Linked DNA regions of Homo sapiens: all the other regions are linked to region 1. The links are contacts of gene promoters, found by promoter capture Hi-C in human tissues and cell types (Jung and others, 2019). All regions are on one chromosome and are shown on one strand. The core of a region is centred on a gene start or on the middle of the fragment in contact, and the rest is flanking DNA. Distances in the headings are between cores, read along the strand shown.

What was found. Contacts are between HindIII fragments. The study calls those that stand out against the background at their distance.
Region 2: a contact is called between a fragment that was not itself captured here and the fragment with the promoter of SH3D19 in region 1, in 2 of the 25 tissues and cell types used here (IMR-90 fibroblasts and mesendoderm cells).
Region 3: a contact is called between a fragment that was not itself captured here and the fragment with the promoter of SH3D19 in region 1, in 1 of the 25 tissues and cell types used here (aorta).
Region 4: a contact is called between a fragment that was not itself captured here and the fragment with the promoter of SH3D19 in region 1, in 2 of the 25 tissues and cell types used here (dorsolateral prefrontal cortex and thymus).
Region 5: a fragment that was not itself captured here is called in contact with the fragment with the promoter of SH3D19 in region 1 in 10 of the 25 tissues and cell types used here (H1 embryonic stem cells, IMR-90 fibroblasts, dorsolateral prefrontal cortex and 7 more).

The regions. Positions count from the first base shown.
Region 1 is chr4:151,324,141-151,326,930 of GRCh38, forward strand. SH3D19 (SH3 domain containing 19) reads right to left here and starts at 1,465. Exons shown (of 20, transcript NM_001378122.1): 1 at 1,101-1,465. The coding sequence starts at 1,212. The HindIII fragment of the contact is 31,894 bases long and covers 1-2,790 here.
Region 2 is chr4:151,801,129-151,803,918 of GRCh38, forward strand. All of the region lies in intron 2 of LOC127898557 (a long non-coding RNA gene), which reads left to right. The region is part of intron 2 of LOC105377488 (a long non-coding RNA gene); the gene reads left to right. Among named protein-coding and RNA genes, the nearest start is that of GATB, 42 kb to the left of the region's middle. The HindIII fragment of the contact is 4,331 bases long and covers 1-2,790 here.
Region 3 is chr4:151,004,293-151,007,082 of GRCh38, forward strand. The region is part of intron 2 of LRBA (LPS responsive beige-like anchor protein); the gene reads right to left. Among named protein-coding and RNA genes, the nearest start is that of LRBA, 9.6 kb to the right of the region's middle. RefSeq lists an enhancer at 1-418. The HindIII fragment of the contact is 8,064 bases long and covers 1-2,790 here.
Region 4 is chr4:151,632,778-151,635,567 of GRCh38, forward strand. All of the region lies in intron 8 of FHIP1A (FHF complex subunit HOOK interacting protein 1A), which reads left to right. Among named protein-coding and RNA genes, the nearest start is that of GATB, 130 kb to the right of the region's middle. The HindIII fragment of the contact is 3,452 bases long and covers 1-2,790 here.
Region 5 is chr4:151,613,712-151,616,501 of GRCh38, forward strand. All of the region lies in intron 7 of FHIP1A (FHF complex subunit HOOK interacting protein 1A), which reads left to right. Among named protein-coding and RNA genes, the nearest start is that of GATB, 150 kb to the right of the region's middle. The HindIII fragment of the contact is 4,766 bases long and covers 1-2,790 here.

The sequences.
Region 1 (2,790 bases), core at 215-2,714:
TTTTTATGTTCCAAGATTCTACCAAAGGCATTAAATTGACTATTTCTTCAAGATGTTCTTCTCAAGTTTTCCTTTCATCCTACTTTCTACCCTCCATTTGTTCCGCACAGATACAATATCTTCTCTATTTTTCCAACTTTCTCTTAGTGGTTAAGGGAGTCACACAGAAAAGCTTCTCCACTTCATGGAATATTCGCTATATTCCACTTTATAATGAGGCTCTCAGTGAATCGTTCTCCTCCGACTCTCTCACTTCCCTATCTCCCTTTTGTTGCCAGTCCCCCTAGGTTTGTTCTTCCCTCTTGTTTTCAGATAACTCGGATTACCCAGTTGGAACCAAAGGCCAAAGAATGTCCTCTCTATTATGTTTGATTGAAAAGCCGCCCGGAAGAGGGAAGGGGTGTGGATCTACACTTATTCACTCTTTCACTAATGTGCCAAACTATTTGATCCGTGCCGCTTTTGTGTACCCAAAACACAGTATCATAAAAGTAATTACAGGCCCGAAAATGATTCTCAGCCCAAATGAATGGCCTTTTGGAATGCTATATTCTGGACTTCTCTTTGCGTGGGGGAGGGTCTCACAACTAACGAAAACAAGTCCTACAGAAAACTGGTGAGCTCGGCGGCTGGGGGAGGGAGGGAGGGGGGTCACAGGTCCGAAGTGCAAGGGACGCCGAAACAGGACTTGCCTCAGTTATGAGCACGTGCTCTGACCTGGCTGCGGCGGCGCAGGCAAACCCCTCGGAAGGTGTCGTTGTCCACCGAGACGGCCATTGACCTCTGACTCATCCAGAGATAAGTCATCAACCAGGCCACAAGTCCCAAGCCAGCAGCTCCTGGATTTAGTGTGCACGGAAAATTTGAGTTTCAGCTGTACGACCACTAGCAGTTAAAGACGGGTCTGAATTTCCTCGGGCTCGGCCGGAAAGTGAGGATGGCGATGGAAATGCCACCCTCCCCGAGTCTGGCCTCTGAGAGTTAAAGAAGCCGGTCCCATCCCGGCGCGTGAAGGAGCTGCCGCTGTGTGGGGCAGGACCCGAGCGGCCCCAGAGCGCGCAGCTCTGGGTCCCCGCCGCCCCGTCCCCCGCGCCTCTCACCTGCGGCCGAGTGGCCCGAGAGCGCACGGCCCCGGGCGCGGCGCTGGCCACCAAGTTCGCGGCGCTCGCGTAGCTCTTCCTCCTCGTCCTCCCGCCGCCGGCCCTCAGCCATGGGCGAGGCGCGGGGCGCAGCCGCGGGATGGCCAGCGAGCTGCGGCCCCGGCGCCCCAGAACGCCTGCACCCGGCGCCCCACGCCACCGCCCTCGGGCCGGGGGGAAGGCGGCTCCCGGAGAGGAGGCGTCGGCGGCGGCTGTGGAAATGGCCACCTCCGCGAACTCCACCTGCAGCCGGCCGGGCAGCGGCAGGGCGCGGGCCGAGCCGATTCCCCGCCTCCTTGCGGCGTCCCGGCGGCCTCTTAATCCCTGGCCTTTCCCACTCCCACTCCCGCTCTCTTCCCCCTTCCTCTTTGCCTTCCCCGCCCCGTAGAGCTCCACCGCGGATCGGGCGGGTTCGGGGCTGGCCTCGCCTCCTCAGGGAGGGGTTATCGGCCCCTAAGGCCGCCCCACAGCCACACACGCTGGAAACACCAGCTCGACCCAAACAAACGTGTGCAAAATAAATAAACGGGATAGGAAGAGGGGAAAGAGGAGGTGGCCTGGCCTCTTCCTGCCTTTTCACGATATTCCAGTGTCAACAGGAAACCCATTTGTTTGACACTTAAACAAAAAGAGGAGGAACCCGACCGGGGCCGAACTGGGAGAGATGGGACAGCTGGGAGCTGCTGAACTTTGGAACAAACTTGGCTTGGAGTTGGGTCGAGCCTCTGCAATGCACACTTTTTTCTTTCCCTCTCTTTTCGCCCTTAAAAACCTAGACTTGCGGGAGCACAGAGGATTTTTAGGGCAGTGAAACTACTATGCGTATGATTCTGTAATAGCGGATGCCTTTGTCCAAGCCCAAAGAATGTACAAAACCAAGAGTGAACCGCAATGTAAACTATAGACTTTGGGTGATTATGAGGTGTCAATGTGGGTTCATCAATTGTAGCAACTGTGGCACTCTGGTGGGGGATGTTGATAATGGGGGAGGCTATGCATGTGTGGGAGCAGGGGGTACATGGGAAATCTCTGTACCTTTAGCTCAATTTTGCTGTGAACCTAAAACTGTTCTTAAAAATAGTCTAGTAAGACTGGAAGCGGTGGCTCATGCCTGTAATCCCAGCCCTTTGGGAGGTCGAGGCGGGCAGATCACGAGGTCAGGATATCGAGACCATCCTGGCTAACACGGTGAAACCCCGTCTTTACTAAAAATACAAAAAAAAAAAAAAATAGCCAGGCGTGGTGGCGGGCGCCTGTAGTCCCAGCTACTCGGGAGGCTGAGGCAAGAGACTGGCCTGAACCCAGGAGGCAGAGCTTGCAGTGAACGGAGATCGCACCACTGCACTCCAGCCTGGGCAACAGAGCGAGAGTCCTTCTCGAAAAAAAAAAAAAGTCTAATAAAAATGTTTAATAATAAATCAAGCCTCACTGTATTCCAGTTCATTTAGGGCTAGGATATGGCTACAATTCCTAGAAGAACAGGAAGAAATGTGTTAAAGAGACCCATACGTGATTATTTGTAGAGAGGCAACTAGGGGAAGTGGAGAGACCACTGGCTCTGGAGTCAGAAACTGTAATTTGAAGCACTTAGCTGTGTGAGCTACCCCTAAGAAAGTTTTTCAAAGCTGGAAAGAACCGTGTAACCAAAGTT
Region 2 (2,790 bases), core at 123-2,622, 480 kb after region 1:
TAGCAATTCTTTTAGAGACTCTGAGACCCTTGGAGACAGAACTGTAGAGATCATCTAGCCCAACTCATTGAGGAAACGGAGGTCCTGATGACTACTGTCCACAGGGGCCGTGTGGATGCTCTGGGTTTTCGCTTAAAGAAGTGACAAGTTAAGGAACCATATATATTTTGTAGAGAAAAAGGTCTTGAAATGGTAGTGGCCAATTTTCAAAAATTTCAAATACATAGCATATCCCAGAGAATGAGGATATGCTATATTTTTAGACAAAGTATGCTAAGTCACTACTGATCAAACAATCACTGGAATGACTTGACAAGAGGAACAGAGTGCCACTTATCTGAATTCTCAGCCAAATGGGAGGATGTTTCTTTTCCTTTATAGGCTTATTGTTAAAAGGTGTTTTGTACAACCGAATAATTTCCCTCTAAAGAAATAAAAGAAATCCTGGGAACCAGTAAGATTCATGACTCCTGCAAAATCCTAAATTTCCCTCAATAATTTCCCTTTTCTAAAAAGAAAAAAAAGTCGCTGGATGACCAAGATTGTTCTAAATTCCTGGGTTGGTATTTAGGCTCACGGAGTAGTTTCTTCAGTTGAGGTTTCTGAGCATCTTCTCAGGAAGATGGCGCTGCCTCAGACTTTCCCAGCACAGTGCCCCTAGTGGCAGAAGAGAAGGTTGCGTGCTGCTGGGCTCTAGCTCTAAATGTACCTGAAAATACTTTTTCTTGAATTCTCCTCTTAATCTTTAAAATTTATGTTAACCTTTCCTTCTGCTCTATGATATATTCATAATTGTTTTAAAATAAAATATAATGTTTTAGATTATTCATCACTTACGGGGATAGTCAAGGCTATCCCCGTTTCCCCCTCCCCTCCCCTCCCCTCCGTCTAATTACTGGACATCTTTGAAACACTTGACAAAATCAATTATTTTTTAAATTTTAGATTAAATTATTTTCGGCAAACGTTTTAAGTCCCTCCCCTTTGACCTCCGTGGGACGAATATACAGTCATATACTACATAACAACCTTTCTGTCAACAACAGACCACATATAGAATGGTGGTCCCATAAGATTATAATGAAGCTAAAACATTCCCACCACCTACAGAGGTTGTAGCCGTGGGAAAGTCGTAGCACAATGCATTACTCACGTGTTTGTGGTGATGCTAGTGTAAACAAACCTGCTGTGCTGCCAGCCACATGAAAGTCTAGCATATGCAATTATGTACAGTATGTAAAACTTGATCATAATAATAAACTATGTTACTGGTTTATATATTTACTACACTATACTTTTAATCGTTATTTTAGGGTATACTCCTCCTACTTAGAAAAAAGTTAGCTACAAAATAGCCTCAGGCAGTTACTTCAGGAGCTATTCTAGAAGAAGGCATTGTTAGCATGGGTGATGACAGTTCCATGCTGCCCCTGAAGACCTGCCAGTGGGACAAGATGTGGAGGTGGAAGACAGTGAGATTCATTGTCCTTACTCTGTGTAGGCCTAAGCTAGTCTGTGTTTGTATCTTAGTTTTTAACAAAAAAGTTTAAAATGTAAAGAAAATACATAATTTTAAAAATAGAAAAATGCTTTTAAAATAGTATATAAAGAAAATATATTTCTCAGACATTGGTACAATGTGTTTGTGTTTTAAGTGTTATTACAAAAGAGACAAAAAGCTTTTAACAATTTTAAAATGTATAAAGTAAAATAGTTACAGTAAGCTGAGGTTAATTTATTATTGAAGGCTGTAAGTTAATTTATTATTTTCTAGATAAATGTAATGTAGCTTACGTCTACAGAGTTTATAAAGATTACAGTAGTGTGCAGTAATGTCCCAGGCCTTCACATTCACTCACCACTCACTCACTGACTCACAGAGCAACTTCCAGTCCTGCAAGCTCCATTCATGGTATAAATGCCCTATACAGGTGCACCATTTTAAATTTTTTATAGTGTACCCTTACTGTAGCTTTTCCATGTTTAGGTATATGTAGACACCCAATACTTAGCATGGTGTTGCCACTGCCTACAGTATTCAGTACAGTATCATGCTGTATAGGTTTGAAGCCTAGGAGCAATGGGCTATTTCATATAGCCCAGTGTAGTGGGCTATACCATCTAGCTTTGTGTAAGTACACTTGTGTTAGGCCGTTCTTGTGTTGCTATAAAGAAATACCTGAGACTGGGTAATTTAATAAGAAAAGAGGTTTAATTGCTCATAGTTTTGCAGGCTGTACAGGAAGAATGTGCCAGCATCTGCTCAGCTTCTCGGGAGGCCTTGGGGAGCTTTTACTCATCTATTTTTATCAGCTGACTGAACACGTCTAAGCAAATACTTGGCGGCACCTCAAAGTTAAGTGTCCAAAACTGAACTCATTATGTTCTCCACAAAATCTGCTTCTCCTCCTGTATTCCCAATCTTAACACAACCATCTTCCCAGCCACCCATGTTAACAACTTTGAGGATATATTTGACCTCTCCTCCTCATTTCCCAAGCCTAGTCACCAAAATCCTGCTGAATCTAGTTCTAAAACATACAGAAAAACCTTTTAGCTAGTCCAGGACCACACCATCTCTTGCTTGGGCTTTGCTTAGCTCAGGTCACTATAACAAAATACCATAGAATGGGAGGTTTAAATAATAGACATTTATTTCTACAGTTCTGGAGACTGGGAGGTCCAAGATAAAGATGCAGAAAGACTTGGTTCTTGGTGAGGGCCTTCTTCCTGGCTTGCAGACTGTTGCTTTCTTGCTGTGTCCTCACATGGAGGAGACAGGATGTTCTG
Region 3 (2,790 bases), core at 146-2,645, 320 kb before region 1:
CTATTATACTTTGGGGCCACTATTAGGTACAAATATGGGTCACTTGAATATAATCACTGCAATACTGCCGCAATCAATCTGATAACGGAGACGGCAACTGACTAACAGGCAGGTAGCATATACATACAGCATGATGCTGGACAAAGGGATGATTCACATCCTGGTGGGACAGAGAGTGATTTCATCACACTACTCAGAACAACATGCAAATTAAAACTTACTAATGGTTTATTTCTGAAATTTTACATTTAATATTCTCAGACCATGGTTAACGGAAGGTAATAGAAACTGGGAAAAGCTAACATGTGACTAAGGCAGGGTACTCTTGTAATGGACAGAAACTGACAAAAAGCAAAATATATTAAGTTACATAATATATTAGAAGATAAATCTGTTAAGAAATAAGGTAACGGCTGGGCGCGGTGGCTCACGCCTGTAATCCTAGCACTTTGGGAGGCCGAGGCAGGTGGATTGCCTGAGCTCAGGAGTTCAAGACCAGCCTGGGCAACACAGTGAAACCCCATCTCTACTCAAGTACAAAAAATTAGCCAGGCATGGCGGCATGAGCCTTGTAATCCCAGCTACTCGGGAGGCTGAAACAGGAGAATCACTTGAACCTGGGAGACAGGGGTTGGTTGCAATGAGCCAAGAGCATGCCATTGCACTCCAGCCTGGGCGACAGAGCGAGACTTCGACTCAAAAAAGAAAGAAAGAAGGTAGGGAAAAAAGATAAGAAGTGGAGGAGAGGGAAATAGTCAAGAAATAGTCAAGAAAGATGTTAAACTTACACAAACTAATCTACACAGGATTCCCACAAATAAAATCCCACAAAAATTTAGTTCAGAATCCAAGATTATAAAACACCCTGTAATGGCCGGGCACGGTGGCTCACGCCTGTAATCCAGCACTTTGGGAGGTCAAGGTGGGCGGATCATGAGGTCAAGAGTTCAAGACCAGCCTGGCCAACATAGTGAAAGCCTGTCTCTACTACAAATACAAAAAATTAGCCAGGGGTGGTGGCAGGCGCCTGTAATCCCAGTGAGGCTGAGACAGGAGAATCCCTTGAACCCGGGAGGCGGAGGTTGCAGTGAGCCAAGATCGCACTATTGCACTTCAGCCCAGACAACAGTACAAGACTCCAACTCAAAAAAAAAAAAAAAAAAAAAAAAAAACCCTGTATATACCACATTAGATGAGAGCTAATGAATGAATACTAGAAAACTATACAGAGTAGATTATAAGAGACTTTTGAAAATAATGACACTGTTCTTTTTTTTTTTGGAGACAGAGTCTTGCTCTGTTACCCAGGCTTTTTTTTTTTTTTTTTTTGGAGACGTAATCTCATTCTGTCACCCAAGCTGGAGCACAGTGGTGCAATCTCAGCTCACACCAACCTCCACCTCCCAGGTTCAAGCAATTCTCCTACCTCAGCCTCCCTAGTAACTGGGACTACAGGTGCCCGCCACCACGCCTGGCTAATTTTGTATTTTTTAGTAGAGAACATGTTGGCCAGGCTGGTCTCCAACTCCCGACCTCAGGTGATCCCACCCACCTCGGCCTCCCAAAGCACTGGGATTACAGACTTACAGACGTGAGCCACCATGCCCGGCAACACTGTTCTCTTAAGGGTAAAACAGACTAAAGTAATTCAAAATTGTACAATGAAAAATACAAACTGCCTAACAAATAACTTCATAGGAAACAAAATAATAAAGGAAATATGCATCAAGGTTTTAACAATATATCTTTTGCGGAAAAGAATAATAGGGCAGGGCATGGTGGCTCACACCTGTAATCTCAGCACTGCAGGAGGCCAAGGCAGGCGGATCACCTAAGGTCAGGAGTTCGGGACCAGCCTGGCCAATATGGCGAAACCCCGTCTCTACTAAAAATACAAAAATTAGCAGGGAGTGGTGGTCAGCTACTCGGGAAGCTGAGGCAGGAGAATCACTTGAACCCAGAGGCGGAGGCTGCCGTGAGCTGAGATCACGCCACTACACTGCAGTATGGGTGACAGAGGGAGACTCCGTCTCAAAAAAATAAAATTAAATAAAATAAAAATAAAAGAATAATAGGAACTAGGCTTCCTAAAGATTGTACTTTTATTTTAAAAATTAAGACATTTCCATTTAACACTTTTGAAGTATCAAAACACTTCAAAAAGTTCTGGAGATACAAAGATAAATAAAATACCTTATTGTACATCTATATAAGTATTATAAAACAAAAATGCATTGTGGACATTTCTGTTTCAACCATATAAAAACTATTTTAAAATATTTTCAAGAATATGTGTGTGAAAAGGGATGCTTTATAAAAAGTGAATATAATAGATTAGTTCAACTAGGTCAGTATGAGAAATAAAAAGCTTACTTAGTTTTTCTATTAATTCACAAACAGGAAAAAAAAATCTGATTTTCCAGTTCCCAAATGATTTCTCAGTTTAAAATAAATCAATTCAAAGGTCAACAAAACTGTATGCTTGCAGGAACCTAAATTATCAAGTCTGTCACTTCCAGGAAACTTTGAAGTTTTAAAATTTCACCAATTCACCCAAATTTCTTGTAATTATCATTAATATTAATATATAACCAATAATATCTACTCATGATAGCTAGTAAAATCCCAGCTTGCTTTTTTACAAAAATTGATACGCTGATCCTAAAATTCACATGGAAATGCAAAGGGCCCAGAATAGCCAAAACTGTCTTGAAAAGGAAGAATAAAGAGGTCTTCCCTATTTTAAAACTCGCCACAAATCTTCAGTAAACAAAAGGCAATTTGGTACTG
Region 4 (2,790 bases), core at 175-2,674, 310 kb after region 1:
AGTGAAAATGAAAGCACAATATACCCAAACTTATGAGGTGCAGTGAAAGCAGTACTAAGAGGGAATTTTATAGCTGTAAACACTTAGGTTAAAAAAGAAAATCTTGAAGCAACAACCTAACTATACATCTTCAGGAACTAGACAAAGAAGAATGAACTAAACTCAAAGTTAGCAGAAGGAAGGAAATGATAAAGATCAGAGCAAAAATCAATGAAATAAAGAATAGAAAAACCAATGAAACCAAGACTTGGTTTTTTAAAACAACAGCAATAATATTGATTGACCATTAGCTGGATTAACTAAGAAAAAAGAGAGATGACTCAAATAACTAAAATCAGAAATGAGAGAGGCGACATTACACCTTATGCCACAGAAATAAAAAAGAGCATACCACAAACAATTATACACCAACAAACTGGATGACCTAGAGGACCTAGATACATTCTTAGAAACATATAGCCTATCAAGGCTGAATCATGAAGAAATAAAAAAAAATCTGAACAGACTTGCCTCAAGTAAGGAGATCAAAACTGTAATGATAATTGAAAAATCTTAAAGAAAAACCCAGGACCAGATGGCTTCACTCTAGTGGTCTACCAAACATGTAAAGAAGAATTAACATCAGTCCTCCTTGAACTCCTAAAAACCTGAAGATCCAGGAACATTTTCAAACTAATTTTATGAGGCCAGTGTTGCCCTAATACCAAAACTAGACAAAGATACTTCAAGAAAACTAGAGGCCAGTATCCCTGATGACTGTTGATGCAAAAATCTTTAACAAAATACTAGCAAAAAGCATTAAACAGCACATGGTAAGGATTGTATAACATGACCAAGTGTGACTTATTCCTAGAATGCAATGATACTTCACCATATGAAAGTCAGTCAGTGTAATATACCACATTAACAGAATGAAGGACAAAACCCACAGCGTCATCTCAATTGATACAGAAAAGGCGCTTGACAAATTCCACACCCTTTCATGATAAAAGCACTCAACAAACTAGAAATATAAAGAAACAACTACAACATATTAAAGGCCTTATATGAAAAGCCCGCAGCTAACATCTTACTCAATGGTGAAAGACTAAAAGCTTTTTCTCTGAAATCAGGAACAAGGCAAGGATGCCCACTTAGAGGTCCTAGCCAGAGCAATTAGGCAAGAGAAAGAAATAGAAAGCATTTAAATTGGATAGAAAGAAGTTAAATTGTGTCTGTTTGTAGACAACATAATCATATATATAGAAAACCCTAAAGATGTCACCAAAAAACTGTTAGAACTAACAAGCGAGTTCAGTAAAGTTACAGGATACAAAGTCAACGCACATAAGTAATTTCTATATATTAACTATGAACAATTCGAAAAGGAAATTTTAAAAAGTTCTTTATAATAGCATCAAAAAGAATAAAATACTTAGGAATAAACTTAACTGAGGAGGTGAAAGACTTGTGCACTGAAAACTACAAAACATTGAAAGAAATGAAAGAAGAACAAATAGAAAGACATTCCGTGTTCATGGATTGAAAAACTTATTTTCATTAAAATGGCCATATTACTCAAAAGCAATCTACAGATTCCATGCAATTTGTAACAAAATCCCAATGGCATTTTTTGGGCAGAAATAGAAAAAAAATCCCAAAATTTATATGAAATCTCAAGGGACTCTGAATAGCTGAAATAATATTGAAAAAGAAGGAAAAAGTTGGAGAGCTCACATTTCCTTAAAACATATTACAAAGCTATAGTAATAAAAAACAGTGTGGGACTAGCATAAAGACCAATGAAACAGAATAAGAAACAGAATGAAACAGAAATGAACCGTTGTATTATGGTCAAATGATCTTTGACAAGGGTGCCAAGACTACACAATAGGAAAGGACGGTTTCATCAACAAATGGTAATGGTAAAACTGGATATCCACATGCAAAAGAATGAAGTTGAACCCTTACTTTACACCGTATAAAAAAATTAACTCAAAATGTATCAAAGACCTAAACATGAGATCTGAAACTACAAAACTCCTAGAAGAAAACATGGAGGAAAACTTCATAGCAATGGATTTTGTAATAATTTCTTGGATATGACACCAGAAGCGTAGGGAAAAATAAGACAGATGGGAGTACATCAAACTTAACAACTTAGGCGTATCAAATGAAATAATCAACAAGATGAAAGGGCAACCTACAGAATGGGAGAAAATATTTATGAGTCATATATCTGATAGGGGGTAGTATCCAGAATATATAAAAAGTTCTGTAACTCACCACCAACCAAAAACCCAAATAATCTAACTTAAAAATAAACAAAGTACTTGAATATTTCTATGAAGAAGACTTACAAAGGACCAAAAAATATATGAAAAGATTAGAGAAGTACAAATCAAAACCACAATGAGATATTATCTCATATTCATTAGGGTGGCCACTATCCAAAAAACAGAAAAAATTAGTGTTGGTGAGAATGTGGAAATACTGGAACCTTTGTGTCTTGTTTATGGGAATGTAAAGTGGTGCAGCTATTATGGAAAACAGCATGGAGGTTTCCCAAGAAATTAAACATAGGTTTAGTACATTATCCAGCAATCCCACTTCTGGGTATATATCTAAAAGAATTTAAAGCACGATCTTGAACAGATATTTGTACACCCATGTTCATTGCAGCATCATTCACAATAGCCAAGAGGTTGAAGCAACCTAGATTGTCCATTGATGGATGAATGGATAAGAGAGTATGTTATATATATACAATGGAATGGAATGTTATTCAACCTTAAAAAAAAGAAGGAAATC
Region 5 (2,790 bases), core at 139-2,638, 290 kb after region 1:
GCACATCAGAAGCAACAAGGGATGCCTGGCACTAGACCTGGAGATAATTATTTAACTGGATCAGGATAGGGCATGAGCATGGGTATTTTTAACTAACTCCCCAGGTGATTCTAACATGGAACTTGGGTTGAGAACCACTGCCACAAGATATTCTTAAAAATGTTTTGCAGGCTGGATGCGGTGGCTCATGCTTGTAATCCCAGCACTTTGGGAGGCTGAGGTGGGTGGATCACCTGAGGTCAGGAGTTTGAGACCAGCCTGGCTAATATGGTGAAACCCTGTCCCTACTAAAAATACAAAACTTAGCTGGGTGTGGTGGCGCACGCCTGTAGTCTGAGCTACTCGGGAGGATGAGGCACGAGAATCACTTGAACGTAGGAGGTGGAGGTTGCCGTGAGCTGAGATTGTGCCATTGCACTCTAGCCTGGGTGACAGAGCAAGACTCCATCTCAAAAAAAAAAAAAAAGTTTTATAAGGCCAGGCATGCTGGCTCATGCCTCTAATCCCAGCACTTTGGGAGGCCGAGGCAGGAGGATTGCTTGAGCCAAGGAGTTTAAGACCATCCTGGGCAACATGATGAAACCCTGTCTCTACAAAAGATACAAAAATCACCCAGGTGTGGTGGCATGCACCTGTAGTCCCAGCTACTCGGGAGGCTGACGTGAGAGATTTGCTTGACCCTGGGACCTCGAGGCTACAGTAAGCGGTGATCACGCCACTGTACTCCAGTCTGAGCCACGGTGTGAGACTCTGTCTCAAAAAAAAAAAAAAAAAAGTTTTGTGAACCTTGAATTTCAAATCAAGTTTGGCAGTCTGGTGTATATTTTCTGGCTTTTAAATTATTTGAATATTGGAGATCCATATTTGATAACCAGTATTCTCCTGGGGCCCAGGGAGCAGGAATTGCACTGTTTTGTGATTAGAGTAATGAAGTTATTATTGTGTCTAAATGACTCCATTTTTACATCTCTCAGAGGTGCTGGTGGAGTCAGTCCCTGTATATGACCCAGGTTTGAGGAATGTGAGTACTTTCAGGGATTGCCAGGAGCGGTAAGGGCCAGAAGTTAATGCTTCTCTGAGTGGCAGCTTAATGTATTGTCATAATTGTACGCATCTGAGAGCATTGATTCTATATTGTTGGCCCTTGTCCCAGTGACAGTAGGAAAGTGGGAGTCTTTCACATAAAGCTTTTTTCCCCCTCTTATCATTTTAATAATGAATTTCACCTCTTTCTGTGGTTTCCAGGAGTAGGGTGCTCTGTGAGTTCTCTGCAGAAGCTGTTTTCTGCAGTAAAGTCCTGATCTGTCACTGGGAACAGCTTTCTTCTGACAAATGTAGCTGAATTGGTTGGCAGAAGGATGGCAGGGAGGTAAAAGGGCAGGGAGTGGTTATAAATCCTCTAAAACGCCATCAATTGAACTCTTACAATGGGAGACAGTGTCTTTGACGACGTGTTCCAAATGGTTGATACAGATATTCAATTTCAAAGGATTTCTGCTGTGTTTTCAGAGGGCAGGGGACAAAAATGCCAGGAAATTGTTAGAATTCTTGTAAAAACCATGAAATTTATTATCAGGTAGACTTAGGTTTGTGTCTGGCTTCTGCCACTTACTGTGTGCTTCTAGGGCAAAAGTTTGAGCCTCACTTTTCTTAGCTGTAAGATGAGAATCCTAATACCTACCTACCATTTTACTCTATCAAGGTGAATTAATTTGTATAATACATGTAAAACATCTAATACAATATTTGGCACAGAGCTGGTACTTCATAAATGGTAGCTATTTCTGGAACTACTATTAATAGTGGTAGTAATTGATGATAATGGCCTGTATGTCCACTTAGCCTTTGGTGGGGATGGCAAGGGGGTGTTGACAGAGGCTCATCTGGGAAGGGTATACTCAGAATTTTCATCCTCACATAGTCAACCTGTTATAATTTAGAGTCTCATCACATATTAATCCTTTAAAATGCAGTCACTCTCTAGAATAGTTCATTTCACTGATTACTCATTTTGTGTACATCCTGCTGTTTAACTCAGAGGGCTTACAATACAGATTTTTTATGTAAACAGTGTGGACAGGGGGTTAGTAGAGGAGAGGGGAAAATATAATTTGGGGATTACTTTGGCCATAAGTCACACCTGGTGTCATGGTTTGGTGTGGAGTTTGGACACCCAGAAAAGGAAAGTTTAGATTATTGGGAAGTTGGGAAGAGGAGATGCCAGAATGGGTGACAGGAGGGTGGTAGGGACCCAACTACAATTTAGAATTTCCTGTGCAGGGTTCTCTGTTAGGATTGCCCGTGTGTTGCCATGAGTTTGTCTTGGTGTCCCTTCTGTCATTTGCCATCAGTTGGCAGTGTCTAGAATACAGTTCCATTTCATTGAAGCACTCAGTCTAGAGTATAAAGCATTTATGTGAATCAGTGGAAACTGAATTTGTACGGCTGAGGATCTGTACTGCAGTTTCAGAAAAGTCAGTATAGTTTAATTGAGGTATAAAGGGCTCTCCTCCCCATCTGAGTTGTGACAAGTTGAGAAATACAAAAAATGAGGCAGATGGAAGATCAAAACACCATCTTTATTACCAGTAAAACTGTTGCCAGAGAATAGGGTTTACTCCTGTGGGCAAACATTCCCAATATTTAACCCTAGAATTAGACAGACACTCACCCAGACACATTATAGAACCTGTGGTGGGGAAGAGCAGAGACAAATATATCTTTCTTTCTTTCTTTTTTTTTTTTTTTTTTTTTTGAGACGGAGTCTCACTCTGTCACCCAGGCTGGAGT